Regions from separate parts of the Homo sapiens genome. Here region 1 is linked to region 2. Evidence: promoter capture Hi-C in human tissues and cell types (Jung and others, 2019). All regions are on one chromosome and are shown on one strand. Each heading gives the region's core, a stretch centred on a gene start or on the middle of the fragment in contact. The rest is flanking DNA. Distances are from core to core; before and after follow the strand shown.

What was found. The method cuts DNA at HindIII sites, captures the fragments that hold promoters and counts their contacts. A contact is called where the count stands out against the background at its distance.
Region 1: a fragment that was not itself captured here is called in contact with the fragment with the promoter of DISP1 in region 2 in 1 of the 25 tissues and cell types used here (hippocampus).

What each region holds. Positions count from the first base shown.
Region 1 is chr1:223,706,338-223,713,022 of GRCh38, reverse strand. CAPN2 (calpain 2) reads right to left here and starts at 484. Exons shown (of 21, transcript NM_001748.5): 1 at 146-484. The coding sequence starts at 382. LOC105373281 (a long non-coding RNA gene) reads left to right here and starts at 5,373. Exons shown (of 3, transcript XR_949164.2): 1 at 5,373-5,655. RefSeq lists silencers at 18-137, 348-737 and enhancers at 1-798, 838-887, 4,665-5,164, 5,165-6,364. The HindIII fragment of the contact is 6,580 bases long and covers 1-5,742 here.
Region 2 is chr1:222,810,462-222,818,150 of GRCh38, reverse strand. DISP1 (dispatched RND transporter family member 1) reads right to left here and starts at 3,112. Exons shown (of 9, transcript NM_001377229.1): 1 at 3,073-3,112. RefSeq lists silencers at 3,152-3,251, 3,342-3,421 and an enhancer at 3,662-3,721. The HindIII fragment of the contact is 9,383 bases long and covers 1-6,056 here.

The sequences.
Region 1 (6,685 bases), core at 1,203-3,702, 900 kb before region 2:
GGTGTCGCAGGACTGCGAGGTCCTGGCTTGCGGCTTCCCCACTGCAGCACCCGGGCTGCCCCCCGCCCCAGCGCGCCGCGGGCCGGCCTGCACCCCGCCCTGCCCGGCACCCCGCCCTGCCCGCGTCCTGCCGCGCGCTTCCTACCGTGGGGCGCTTCCACTCGATGCCCCGGGTTTTGCTGGAGTAGGGCCCCAACTCCTTGAAGCCCAGGGCCGAGGGGATGGCCGGGAAGGACGGGTCCTGGAAGAGCGTCCCGGCCTCCAGGCACTCGTTCCGCAGCGCCTCGTAGTCCTGGTTGAGGTACTTGATGGCCCTGTCGTGGGAGCCCAGCCCCTCGGCCGCCTCCCGGTCCTTCGCCAGCTTGGCCGCGATGCCCGCCATGCTGCGGTCCCGGCGGCCGTACTGCGCAGAGAAAGGTCGGGGCGACTCCGCGCTGCGCTCGGCTGGGGCGCGGCCAGGGCCCGGCGCGCTGCTGCGGCCACTGCGGGCGCCGCCGCTGCGAGCGATGATTCACCGGAGGGAAGCGGCCCGGCCCGCGGGGTGTGGCCTCAGCCGCTCCCGGCCTGCTGGGCTCCCGGCCCGGGACCAGGCCATCCTGCGGCCTGCCGAGCGCCGGGAACGCCGCGACCCGGGGCCGGTGCTGCCATCTGCGGACAGCTCCCGGGATGGCGCGGCCCGGCGCCGGGGAGGCTCGCGAATCGCGGTCCAGAGTTGGGGCTCCCACCGGAACCCGAGGCCACCTTTGCAGCCCATAGGGAAGAAGGCTAGGATAGTTGTGGCCGTCCGGAAAACACCCGGGGAGTTAGCAGAGGGTCAGGTAGTGAAGTCGAGGAAACTAAACCAGCTGCCCTGAACTTTGTGCCAAACAGCGTCTTAACGGCTCTGCATACATCATCTCATTTAATCCTCCCAGCGACTCTGAAGAAGGCGCTGATATTGTCCCCATTTTACAGATGAGAAAACTGAGCCTCGGAGACGCTAAATGACGTCCCCAATGTGGCACAACAGTCACAGGCAGAACAGGGACTCTAAGCCACCGGAGGCCTATTGCAATCACAATGCTGCAATTACTACTGCTCAGCTGTTTATTTGATTATAGATAGGGTTGTCAGATTTGGCCAATAAGGCTGGGTGCGGTAGTTCACACCTGTAATCCCAACACTTTGGGAGGCCGGAGGCAGGCGGATCACCTGGGGTCAGGAGTTCGAGACCAGCCTGGTCAACATGGTGAAATTCCGTCTCTACTAAAAATACGTCGTGGCAGGCACCTGTGATCTCAGTTACTCGGGAGGCTGAGACAGGAGAAACGCTTGAACCCAGGAGGGAGAAGTTGCAGTGAGACGAGATCGCGCCACTGCGCTCCAGCCTGGGTGACAAAGCGAAACTCCATATCAAAAATAAAATAAAATAAAATGATTTGGCCAATAAAACAACAACCCTCCCAAATGTTTAATTTGAATTTCAGATAAACAACAGATACTTTTAAAGTATATGTAGGGCCCAAATATTGCATGGGCATACATACTTATTCTAAAAGAAAATATGATTCATTGTTTACCTGAAACTCATATTTAACTGGCAGGATTAGTTGGGTTACTATAGGGAGAGAGCATTTAGAATACTGCCTGTGTTGGCTACTGTGACCACTCTGTTGTGGAGCTAGGGTGTGATTCTCATCTCACACACAGAGACATGGGTGCGTGCCAAGAAATGCAGATGGGCAGAAATTACCTCCTCTTCTTCTCTACAGTAGTAGGGAAGAATTTGGGTTTCACTGGAAAACTGTGCATGGTCTACAGCAGTGGTTCTCAACTGGGGGCAGTTTTGTCCCCTACCCACCCCAGGAGACATTTGGGAATGTCTGGAGATAGTTTTTATGGTCACAGCTAGGAGATGAGGTGCTACTGGCCTTTACTAAGTAGAAGCCAGGGATGCCGCTGAACATCTTCCAATGTCCAAGATAGCTCTTGTGAACCCAGAAAATCTGAAACAGGTCTCATTTAATTTAGAAAGTTTCTTTTGCCATGGTTGAAGATGCACACCTGTGACACAGGAAGTCCTGAGGACATGTGCCCGAGGTGGTTGGGGTGCAGCTTGGTTTTATACATGTTAGGGAGGCAAGAGCCATCAGTCAAGTACATTTAAGAAATACATTGGTTTGGTTCAGAAAGGCGGGACAACTCAAAGTGGCGGGGGGTGGTGGGTGGGTAGTGGGGGTGGCTTCCAGGATATAGGTAAATATTTAAACATTTTCTGGTTGACAATTGGTTGAGTTTGTCTAAAGGCCCAGGATCAATAGAAAGGAATGTTTGGGTTGCGATAAGAGGTTGTGGAGACAAAAGTTTTATCACATAGATGAAGCTTTTAGCTAGCAGGCTTCAGAGTGAACAGGCAGTAAAATGTTTCTTATCAGACCTAAACTCTGGTTGATGTTCACGCTGGAGAGGTATAATGAAGCATGTCCGACCTTGCCTTTCCTTCATGGCCTGAAAATTTCAGGTTAAAATTTTAAGAGCCTCGGCTAAGGAGGAACCATCCATTTAGATGGTTGGCGGGGGTAGGGGAGGGGGAGGCTTAGAATTTTATTTTTGGTTTACATTCTCCACCCAAAACATGATCTAGTCCAAGACATCAGTCATGTAGAGGCTGAGAAACCCTGGTTTAGAGCATCTCCTTCCAGAAGATCTGGGTCTAGCCTTTCATTGTTTTTGTTGTTGTTGTTGTTGTTTTTGTTTTTCTTGAGATGTAGCACCCTGTCACCCAGGCTGGAGTGCAGTGACAGGATCTTGACGATCTCAGCTAACTGCATCTTCTGCCTCCCGGGTTCCAGCGATTCTCCTGCCTCAGCCTCCAACGTAGCTGGGATTACAGGTGCACACCACCACATCTGGCTAATTTTCTATATTTTTTGTAGAGATGGGGTTTCACCGTGTTGGCCAGGCTGGTCTCGAATTCCTGACCTCAGGTGATCCGCCTGCCTCAGCTTCCCAAAGTGTTGGGATTACAGGTGTGAGCCACCACACGAGCCCCTTTCATTGTTTTTGAGTTATTTTATAACTCTAAGTTGTATATAACTGTAGCAATGTATAGTTACCTAAGTAACTCTAAGTAAGTAATCTAAGTTGTAGATAACTGTAGCAATGGAAAATAATTTTTCCTATAGATATGCAAATGCATTCTGTCCAGTAGAGGCACTACAGTCCCCCTGTAGAGAGACCAGTTTTTTGTCTAGTTGCATATTCCATTTCAGTACTCTTCACGTCATGTAAATTGTGCTGCTTTGGTTTCTCCTTTGAACCAGTTATAACATCCACCAGATTGCCTCGTTTAATCAAGTTAAATGGACTCTTTTTTTTTTTTGAGATGGAGTTTCACTCTTGTTGGCCCAGGCTGGAGTGCAATGGCACAATTTCGGCTCACCACAACCTCCACCTCCCAGGTTCAAGTGATTCTCCTATCTCAGCCTCCCGAGTAGTTGGGATTACAGGTGCCTGCCACCATGCCTGGCTAATTTTGTATTTTTAGTAGGGACAGGGTTTCTCCACGTTGGCTAGGCTGGTCTCGAACTCCTGACCTCAGGTGATCTGCCCACCTCTGCCTCCCAAAGTGCTGGGATTACAGGTGTGAGCCACTGCACCCTGCCGAAATGGAATCTTTAAAATGTGTTTATTTTATACTAATATGAGAGCCATGATGTTACCTTTTCTTAAAGCAAGTATTTTTGTCACTATTATTCCTCTGCCCCCATCTATTCTTGTCTCTGACACCCATTGCTTACCCCCTTTGCTTGACAAAACTTTGGTCAGACTTCTCTCTTTCCTACAGATCCCTGAATGCTGCTTGCCCCCAAGCCTGAACAAGCACAAACAAAGTGGAGTGTCCCTGCCAAGTCACTTCCCTGCCCAGCTTCTCCTGGGAATTGACTGAACACAGCAAGACCCTTTTCCTGTCAGCTCCCACTGGTCATTTCCCCTCACTTGTCCAGCTTCCCCTCCCAAGAGTCTGCTTATCTCCACTTGCTCCTCCTTTACCCTAGAAAAGAAGAATCTTTTTCTGTTTGATTTTGAGCTGCTTGCAGATTCTCTGAATTGGAATTGTCTTTCTCTCTTTTTTTTTCTTTTCTCTTCTCTTTTCTTTCTTTTCCTTCCTTCCTTCTCTTTTTCTCTATTTTTTCTTTCTTTCTCCCTCCCTTCTTCCCTTCCTCTCCTTCTCTCCTTCTCTCTTTCTCTCTCTCTCTCTCTTTCGCTCTTTCTTTCTTGTTTCACTCTTGTTGCCCAGGCTGGAGTGCAGTGGTGCAATCTCCACTCACTGCAACCTTCGCCTCCCGGGTGCAAGTGATTCTCCTGCCTCAGCCTCCTGAGTAGCTGGGATTACAGGTACCAGCCGCCATGTGCAGCTAATTTTTTTGTATTTTTAGTAGAGACGGGGTTTCCTCATGTTGGCCAGGCTGGTCTTGAACTCCTGACCTCAGGTGATCCACCTGCTTTGGCCTCCCAAAGTGCTAGGATTACAGGTGTGAGCCACTGCGCCTGGCCTGCAATAGTCTTTCTTTCTATTGAAGTGTCCCTTTATAAAAGTCTGGATTTTTTTTTTTTTTTAAACAGAGTTTCACTCTTGTTGCCCGGGCTGGAGTGCAATGGCGCGATCTTGGCTCATTGCAACCTCCGCCTCCCGGTTCAAGTGATTCTCCTGCCTCAGTCTCCCATGGTTTTGTTTTTATTTGACATCCTCCATCTCTGGTTTGCAAGTCTGGGCATGCTGCCTGATGGGCAGGTACCACCGTCCACCACCAGGCTTTGCTTTCTTTACTCTTGAATAAGGCGGGGACACAGGTTCCATTGTGTAATGGTTGGCACTCTGGACTCTGAGTCCAGAGATGGGGATACAGGCATTCATTTCTAGCTCATGGGTTTCTGGTGCAAGGGTTTCATGAAGCCATCACAATTGAAAACAGAGGAAAGCGACAGCCCTGTCCTGGAAGCTGTTCATTTGTTCCACTGTCTGATTTCCATTGGCCCCACCCCGACTTCTTCTGGGCTCGAGGCTCTTGGGAGAAAGCTTGTCCTTCTGCCCAGTGGGGCAGAGCGCAGGCTTCTCCTCCCACTGATCTCCTCAAGGACAGCTCATCTCTGGAGGAAGTGACTCCTCCCAGGCAGGTGGAGGTCATTTCCCTCCTAAGTCATTTTAGCAACAAATGGGCAGATCAGACCTATCATTCCAGTCAACTCAGAAGCTTTGCACAGCCTGGGAGCAGAAGAGCCTCCTGGCTCACCTGAAGTTCCTCTTCCCCAGCTAGGCAACACCCTCTTTGGTGCAGCCCTGGCCACTCCCCTTGCCAGCCTTCTAGGGATCGCTGCGCACATAGAGCTCTGCTTACAAAGGGCTTTAGGCTGTCCTATGCCACCCAAATTTAATTGCAAACACATACAATGACTACTTTCCCCAACCATTTGGACAAAGTCTAGTTTTTAAACCTGAGTTAATGTTGCTTTTTCTACTTCCCAAAGCCTCTCACACTATGCTATCTCACTGACCCAGCAAAGTCTTCTCTTTCTCTGACCACACAATCCTTTTCACGGGAACACAAGGACATAGACAAACACTTCATGGTGGAAAACCTTCCTGGAGTGAGTCAGCCAGCCCTGAGGATGGTGGTGAGTCAGAAACAGCTGGGATTATCCAGAACTGCCTGGGTCTGGGCCACTGACCTTGTGAGTAAATGAGAGAGGGAGTGAGAGAGAGAGATAGAAAGAGAGAGAGAGAGAAGAAGAGAGAGAGAGAGAGAAAATAAGAGAATAAGAATGTGTGTGTCTCAGAGGGCCATGGCAATGGAATCTTTTTCAGTAGTATTTTTCTTTAGATTATTTTCTCCCTGGCCCTGGATGTTTGAGATGCATCAGAGGCACAATCTGCAGGTTCTGGATTTTTTTTTTTTTTTTTTTGAGGTGGAGTCTCACTCTGTCACCCAGGCTGGAGTGCAGTGGCGTGATCTCGGCTCACTGCAACCTCCGCCTCCCGGGTTCAAGCAATTCTCCTGCCTCAGCCTCTTGAGTAGCTGGGATTACAGGGGCTCACTGCCATGCCCAGCTAATTTTTGTATTTTTAATAGAGACGGGGTTTCGCCATGTTGTCCAGGCTGGTCTTGAACTCCTGACCTCAGGTGATCCACCCATCTCGGCCTCCCAAAGCGCTGAGATTACAGATGTGAGCCACCGTGCCTAGCCAGGTTCTGGAGATACTAACCAAAGCTTCCTTTTTAATTTTGCACCTCCACGTGTCAGTCTCAGTTTTTATTTGACATATTTGTGCACTTTACACATATTTGTGCACTTAATCTTCACAGCCAGTCAAGGGAGATCTTATCTCCTCATTTAATGGATGAGTAAACAGAGGCCCAGCAGAGCAGCTGACATGTTGTGTTGTAGAGCCAGCCTGGCTGCCAACACCTAGACCATGGTCCCTTGGGGTCTGTCCATACCCAGTGTAGGAGGGCAGAGGGAACGGCAGGCCCAGGCAGAGGAAAAGAACCTGTTTTCTTCCCCTCCCTCTTTCAGGTCCGTGATTTGAATCCAAAGGAGATCACAGAGAATATGAATTCCACAGGGCTGCAAAAAACGGTTTCATTTGAAAAGAGATTTCTTTCTCTTCTGAAGCAGCTGCAGGGTTTATTCTTTCCTCATAGCT
Region 2 (7,689 bases), core at 1,863-4,362:
CCCATGCAAATCATTTATCCAATAGTTCTTCTATTCCTTAGGCTCTCAAAATTAAAAACAAAACTAATAATAACAACAAAGGTTAAGGGCAATCAGTGTGTTTTCTACAATATTTGCCATTGTGAGTTATAGCCTATCACTTTAACAGAAAAGTTCATCTACAGTGTAATGTGATGCCTCACTCAAAGCAAAACTGAGTCTATTTATATAATCCAACAAATTATGATTTAGTATTAAAAGTATTTTTAAAACAATAACCTAAACAAGAGGTTCACAGTCATAACTACATGCCTATAGGCTGGAAAATGTGCCAAGATTTATGGGATCAGATTCAGCAGAATGGACAGGGCCCTACTAACAGGACTGCAGTGATTCATCCCCTTTTGAGTCACTCTGAGGCCCAAGTCATCTTGGTCACTATTGGAGAAAAGGTCTAACTCACCAGAGGAAAAGGACAGAAAGTATTACTAAAAGCAGTCAACCCTGTGTGAGTCAACCTCATTAAGGGCCATGCTTTTCATCAGAGGCAGTGCAGCAGCTGGACCTTAAGTTAACAGATCAGCAGTCTTTCGTAGCTCCTCATCCAAAAACTGTACTTCCCCATTGTAACAAATATTCTTGATTCTATCAAGTGGCAGGAAATGGCTTTCTAACTAGAGTATGCCGATAATTGAGAACGTACTATATAATCAGAAAATTGATAACCAAAGGGCATAGAAGCAACGAGCTCAACTTAGCAAATTATTTCGTATTTTACAAACTAGAGATTAAGGAAGACAAATGTATGTGTATATGAAGACAGTGTTTTGGTTATCACTATTTTGATAGTTCTTCCAATACAGACACTGTACATATTTCAGAAATAAAAAGAAATAGTGAATCTATAAAATAGCCAGCAGTTCGCTGTACTTAATCAAAAACTGCCATTATTGGTTAAACTGTAAAATACATCTAAATCCTACGGAATAACAAAAATAATTTATCTAGAGAGAAAGCTAAATTTACTAAACAATTAGAAGAAAGAATACAATTCCAAAGATTTTCCGGAATACAGGGCAATCCAACCTCAACATACCATTCATATATATAGCTAGCCCAACTTGCCCAAGAGGGCAAGTGCTCTTGTGTTTCAACAACGAGCACTTCCTCCAACCATGAACTAATGTCTAAAGACTTGCATGCTTTCTCAAGTGCTTTATTTCTCAAAAACCATGGGAAAAGGCGGAAGAAAAATAAAATCAAGTCTTATCAGATAAACAATATTGTCTACTTAAACAAATAAGATTAAATTGAGACATATACAGAAATTAACATGGCAGTTAATTCAATTACTTTAGAGATCAGTGTTATCTCTTCATTTTGTAATTTGAAAACTTATTCAATATGCTCATTTACATGTTAAGGCACTGTTTATGTTTAGGCCTTGCTTTACACTTGTAAATATCAGCAGTCCTCCTAAACATAAGGACGTTATAACTGTGTATTTCACTCAAGCACAGATATTCAAGGCCATCAAGAATTTATAAGCTAGCAAGATATCGCAGTACCAATAAATATAAAATGTTCTAGTTTTCCTGAATTAGTTCAAGTCAGACCACCAAATCAGATCTAAAAGTTACCTGTACTAATACAGTAATTTTTAAAACAAAAACTTCTAACATTTGAAATGTGAAACACCTGAAACAAGCAAAGCAATCATCAGATCTCACCCTCCATCAGTGACAGTGTTATGATTCTTCCTAGCTACCTTGCTCACTTTGTGGCAAAAATCCAATTCACTTACTACCTACTTAAAAGCTAGGAGAATCTTTGTAATTACACTGAGTGAAACACTATATTATGTAGATTAGGAAGCACATATTAATCACATCCAATAAAACATAAATGCAAGGTAAATAATAACTAAATCAATAATTACCTTTGGTAATAATAATGAGCCCACATACCAAACACTGGCCACTGGGGAAAACTAAATGTGCTAATGTGCGTGTAACAACAGATCTTGGGTTATCAATATTTTTAAAAAACACTGACAATGGCAAATATTTATATATATATATATATATATATATATATATTTCCTTACAGCAGAAATAAAAAGGAACAGTAAAATCTTAAGAACTGCTAGTAATTTGCTGCACCCTGATGTAAAATTGCCTTTATTGGTTAAACTAAAAGACTAAACCCAACAAAATAGCTTTTAGAAAAAATGTGTTAGAAAGTTGGACAGAAAAACAATGAGTTGAAACTGCAAACATTGACAGCACTGGCTTTCCATGTGATTATCACCATAATTCTGAACGCATTTAGTTCATCCCATGACAAGGGAAATAAGACAAGCTAAACTCTGCAGGGTAGAGAAGAGTCCAAAAGGAAAACTTTGGTTGTCTTCCTTGGGTGAAGAGAACTCTCAACTACTATCAGTTTGACAAAGACACGCAGAATCTGGGTGAAGCAAGAATTCGAGCGGTCCCTAGGAATATACAATATTTTCCCGAAATCCACACGCGCGGAGCGGGATATATTTCTAAAAACAAAAAACAAACTGCATGAATTGCAAATGAAGCAATAGGAGTTCAGCATCCAATAGGTGGCTGGTCATCTTTCTGGTTCGTTAGGTCAAGACGTCCTTCTCACCTACGACCCTCAGAGAAGGACTGACTCCCTCCTCTGTAACCTCTCCCTGGAAGCCAACCTTTGCCATCTCCTGCCATCCTCTCAGTCAATCCGCCAGGACCCGGGACACGCCCCCACGAATGACTACTTTCCTCCGAGATGCAACTCTGCCCCGTGTCATCCGCAACCTCCAGTCTCAGGGCCTCTTTGGCCTCAGGGTCCCCGGTGCCTCCCTCCTCAGTCCCTAAAGGCTGCCCTTAGGGCTCTCCTGGTTCCCCGTTCTCAGTCCTGGCCCTTCTCTCAAGCCTGGGGTCCCGGATTTCCCTCCACACGCGCGGGAGATGCCGACTCTCCCGTCCCTACCCGGTCTCCCAGTCCCGCGGCGCCGGGCGGCGGCGCGCCGAAAGGCATCCACTGAGGAAACAAGTGCCTGCAACGTTCCGGCTGCGAACTCACCTCCAGTCCGGGCTCTCGGATGCTGGCCCGGAGCCGGGCTTCCGCCTGGCGCGGTCCGCGTCGCGAGCGGGACCGGAAGTCCCGCCCCTCGCCCGCTCCCGGCCCGCTCCCGGCCCGCTGGCCTCGCTTGACTACCGCTCCCCGGGAGAGGGATCGCCGGCGGCGGGCGACGGGCGGCTGGCAAGGGGCAGAGGGCAGAGGGGCTTGGCTTGAAAGGGCGAGGCAGGCGCCAAAAAAATTCCCTCTCGCGCTCCTGCTCTTTCTAGTGTATCCATCGACCAGTGTGCAAATGCTTGACCAAGCGTCTATTCTGCCCAAGCCCAGTGAGGCACAAGATGACTCAGACACTGACCTCTGTCCTCACAATCTAGTTAAAAGTTGACATAAGTAAAAACAGAAGTAAATCACGCCACAAGACAGTGTTTCTTCTTTCATTATTCAGATTATTATCACCTGCTATATAGGCCTGTGAACAACCAGGCACTGCTGTAGGGGCTGGGGATAGAGCGAACAGAGGACAGCCCCACTCTCGTGAGGCTTACACTCAGGGCGAGGAACTAGCTATAGAATAAATCGAACAGCGGCGGCTCCCTCGGGAGGCTTATGCACAGAAACAAAAATATATAAGCAATGAAACCATCAAGTGTTAGAGGCACTCTGGTGGTGCTGTAGGGAACGGTGCAATGTAGAGAGCTGGGCGGAGAAGGCTTTCTAGAAATAATGACTCTTCAATTGAGACTGAAATAAATGATGAATAAGAGTTAAAGGACAGGCACAGTGGAGAAGGGCATGCAGAGAAGAAGGACGTTATGGAGTGAGAGCTTGGCTTGTACCGGTAGCTGGCCAGGAGTTAAGCAAAGTGTCAGATGGCAGATGCAAGAGCAAGCATAATGAGAAGAGACAAGGCCAAATCATGAAGAACGTTGTGCCCTATGCTTAAAAATTTTGGACTTCAGAGACTCCGTGCAACGGAATCCGTGGGGTCATCTAAGGGAATAGACAAAACAGTGAGTCATGGGGTTGACTAGGGGGATTGTCCTAGTCATCAAAGAAAAATAATACATCATGAATAGCATGTTTTATCCTTGAGGGTGCTTTCTTGAACTGCCATACCCAGATGTAAAGGCAATAGACGGCTACCACAACCCTATAAAGGCAGGACCACAAGGGATCATACCCCTCAGGTTGCTGCATTGAGCAAATCACCCCAACCAACTGAGATGCTAACTGAAGTCACAGGGAACTATGGAATGGGCCCAGAAGAAAGAAGCTTCAACACCAGCTACAGTAATGAGGACTGTTGCATTTTTTGTTTGTTTTCTTTGCTACCAGTGTTTAATAAATACTCTCTTGCACACCAAGCCCTTTCTTTGCCTTTTTAAAAAGGAATGGTATAATACATACATTTTTCTTTTTTTCTCCTTTTGCCAGCAAAAGGCCATACATTGCAATATATGGAGATAGGATTACAGTAGAAGAAAATGAGGAATGGATATCGTGTAGAAAGTCTGTACTTAGAGGGCATAACATCAACTCTAAGTGAAGTAAAAGGTCACGCGTTTGGGTTTTCTCCCATTGGGAAGGTTAGTAGTCCATTTGTGGTGATACTTGAAATAACTGATTCACATAGCGGCAAGGTGTATTTTTGAAAGGATGGAAAGAAGAGAGTGTGTATGTGGTGTGATGTGGGGGGTGTGTGTGTGTGTGTGTGTGTGTGTGTGTGTGCCCACGCTGGGTGCCAAGAAGTAGAATGTAATAGACACTCTGTGAAATGTTTCCTTATAGCTTCTCACAATTCCTTTTTTTGTAGGAATGGCTGAAATACATAGAGGCAGTCCTTTTATGGGCCACATATGCACAAGCGACCATGTCCTAGTGTGACCAGCTACTCTGGTTTGCTAAAGACAGGGGGATACCAGGATGCTGGACTTTCGGTGCTTAAACTGGGATAGTTTTGCGAAAACTGAGACAAGTTGGTTGCGCTACCATGTCCCTTGTCTACATAACAGATTAATTCAGAGGTGGGCATATCCTAAACCAGACCATTTAGACTCTTTGCCCCAGAAATCTTAAATGAGGCATAGAGAAACACAGAGAGAATATAGTTACTCAGTAGAACTGAGTCACAAATGGCAGTTCCCTAAAGAAAAAATCTATTAACACCCTTTGCCAAAGATCCAGGACCTGCCCTGTTTCCTTTGGTTATAGGAGATATCCCTGTATAATTCCAAAACTTTTTTTTTTTTGGCTAGTCAAAGAAGATTGCTGCTGCTTGCAACCAAAATAATCTTAAGGAGCATATTCATTTCCAATCCTTGTTTAAGATAATGTGCTCCAAGAGTCTCTTCTGAATGGGCACTGAGCTGAACGAACCATACTCATTGCCACAGCAAACCAGACCAAATATGAACACTGAACTCAAACAGGCCTAGAAAGTCTCACATGCATGGATTTTGCAATGCACATATAGGGCTCCACTCTTGCATGCTAAATTAGAAATGTCCAAACCTAGAATTAGGTTAGGCATGAGTAAGATGTTCAAAACTGATGGGAAAAGGGGGAAAGCAACAGGAATGATGAGAAGGAAATAAGGATAAGGAGAGAAAGATGGAAAAAGAGAAGACTTATCTGAGAGGTGAACATCTTAGTTCCCTTCTTTTCAGTTTCTGATTCCCCAGTCCCTTATGAGATCCAGCTAAATGTTCTGCCCTTAAGTTCTACGAAAATTCCGTGTCCTTCCAGTAAACCCCCCATTTGGTTAAGAATCATTTTAGTAGGTTTCCCCTCCTAGCAATCAAACCCCAAGACATCAATTCACAAGACACAAGGTTGCCCACTCATTCTATAGCATGCACCAGAGTTCTGGAGCCACTTTCTCTCCTCAGACTCAAGAACAGGAGAAGGATTTGCACACCTCCATGGCTGCCTGGTCCATTCAGGAAAACTGTCACAATTACCATGGGTTAGATGACTTTAACTATTAAAATCACACAGGTGGGGAGAATCATGCAATCAGAGTGTAAAGTGGAAGGAGACTTTGGAAACCATGCATGTCAACAGAGGAAGGAACTAATGCCCTTCCAGCTAGGCATAGTGGTTTTCCTAAGGCTAAATAGTTCAGTAGTCCCAGAGACAGGATTAGCTAACAATCTCGTCTCTCAACAACTGAGGAAACTACTGTGAAATCCTTGAAAGTGCACTATTCAGTCTCCTCCCACTCAGCTCCTGATCTTTGGAGTTTACCCACATCTGTATAATGGCATCAGCCTGACTGCGGAACTGTGAGAGCTGTTCAAAAGCCATTTGTGGGTGACAGTAGATAGTGAATATGTTAATCTGAATCAGGAGAGAAAATTTTAAGGAAAATTTTCCTACTTTTTTTTTCCGTACTCGCCAACTGGCTCAAACAGGTAGATGGGTTAATTAACAGAGCTAATAAGGTTAGTTATTCATAAAGTTTATTTACACATTCTACATTCTCTTTAGTTCATACATGGGTATATGTCGTTTCCTTACTTTTTTTTTTTACCACCAACATAAACATCGATATATTTGCAGTTATGTCTAAAACTATATCCTCGTCCCTTTGTAATTTAGTGGCAATTTACTAAATTACTACTAAATCCAGTAATTTAGAAATTTGTGGCAAAATCAACTAGTCTACACTTGGAAGCAATCACAACACCAAACTTGCATTAATTACAGATTATGAAATGAGTGATAAATAAGGTCAGCCAGGGATCTCCAATTAATAATTCCTAACTCTTCTGCAGCTTATTAAAGGCCAGATATTTTCTATGAAGATCTTAACATCTCTTACATAAAGTGAAAAATTAATTACTAAATTTAAAGTGCCATTTCCTTCCTAATGATGTGCAAATATTACTCACCGTCATCATCTCCAGAAATTTGGCACTGTTGTCCAGGCTGGAGTGCAGTGCTGCAATCTGGGCTTACTGCAGTCTCTATCTCCTGGGCTCAAGCCGTCCTTTGACCTCAGCCTCCTGAGTAGCTGGGACTACAGGCATGCAACACCATGTTTGGCTAATTTTTGTATTTTTTTTTAAGAGATGGGGGTCTTCTTATGTTGCCCAGGCTAGTCTCGATCTCCTGGGGTCAAGCGATCCTCTTGCCTCAGCCTCCCAAACTGTTGGGATTACAGGCATGAGCCCCCGCACCCAGCCCAGAAATTTTTCATCTTCCCAAAAATGATACTTTGTATCCATTAAACAATAATTCTCCATTTCCTTCTCCCCTCAGTGTTTTGATGTAATTTTATGTTTGTATATCCTGCAAAAACATTTTTAGCACTGATTCATATCTTCTTGAAGTAAATACATTTCTAATAGAAATAATATTTTGCCCTTTTCAGCTCTTTTCTCCTGTGGAATCCAAATAAAACATGTGATTTCCACAGGGATGCCGTTCTGCTTCAGACCTCTTTAAGAGCTAAACCAATGGAAATTCCATGTGTAAAAGAAACATAACAGGGAGACTTGGCATGATACTCATTAACTAAAAATCTGGGTGGATGTGTTCCTAAGGATTTTTATTCAAGTTAATACTTTTGAACTCCAATCCTGCTTGTTTCTCTGCAAAAGCAATGGGCATTCCACG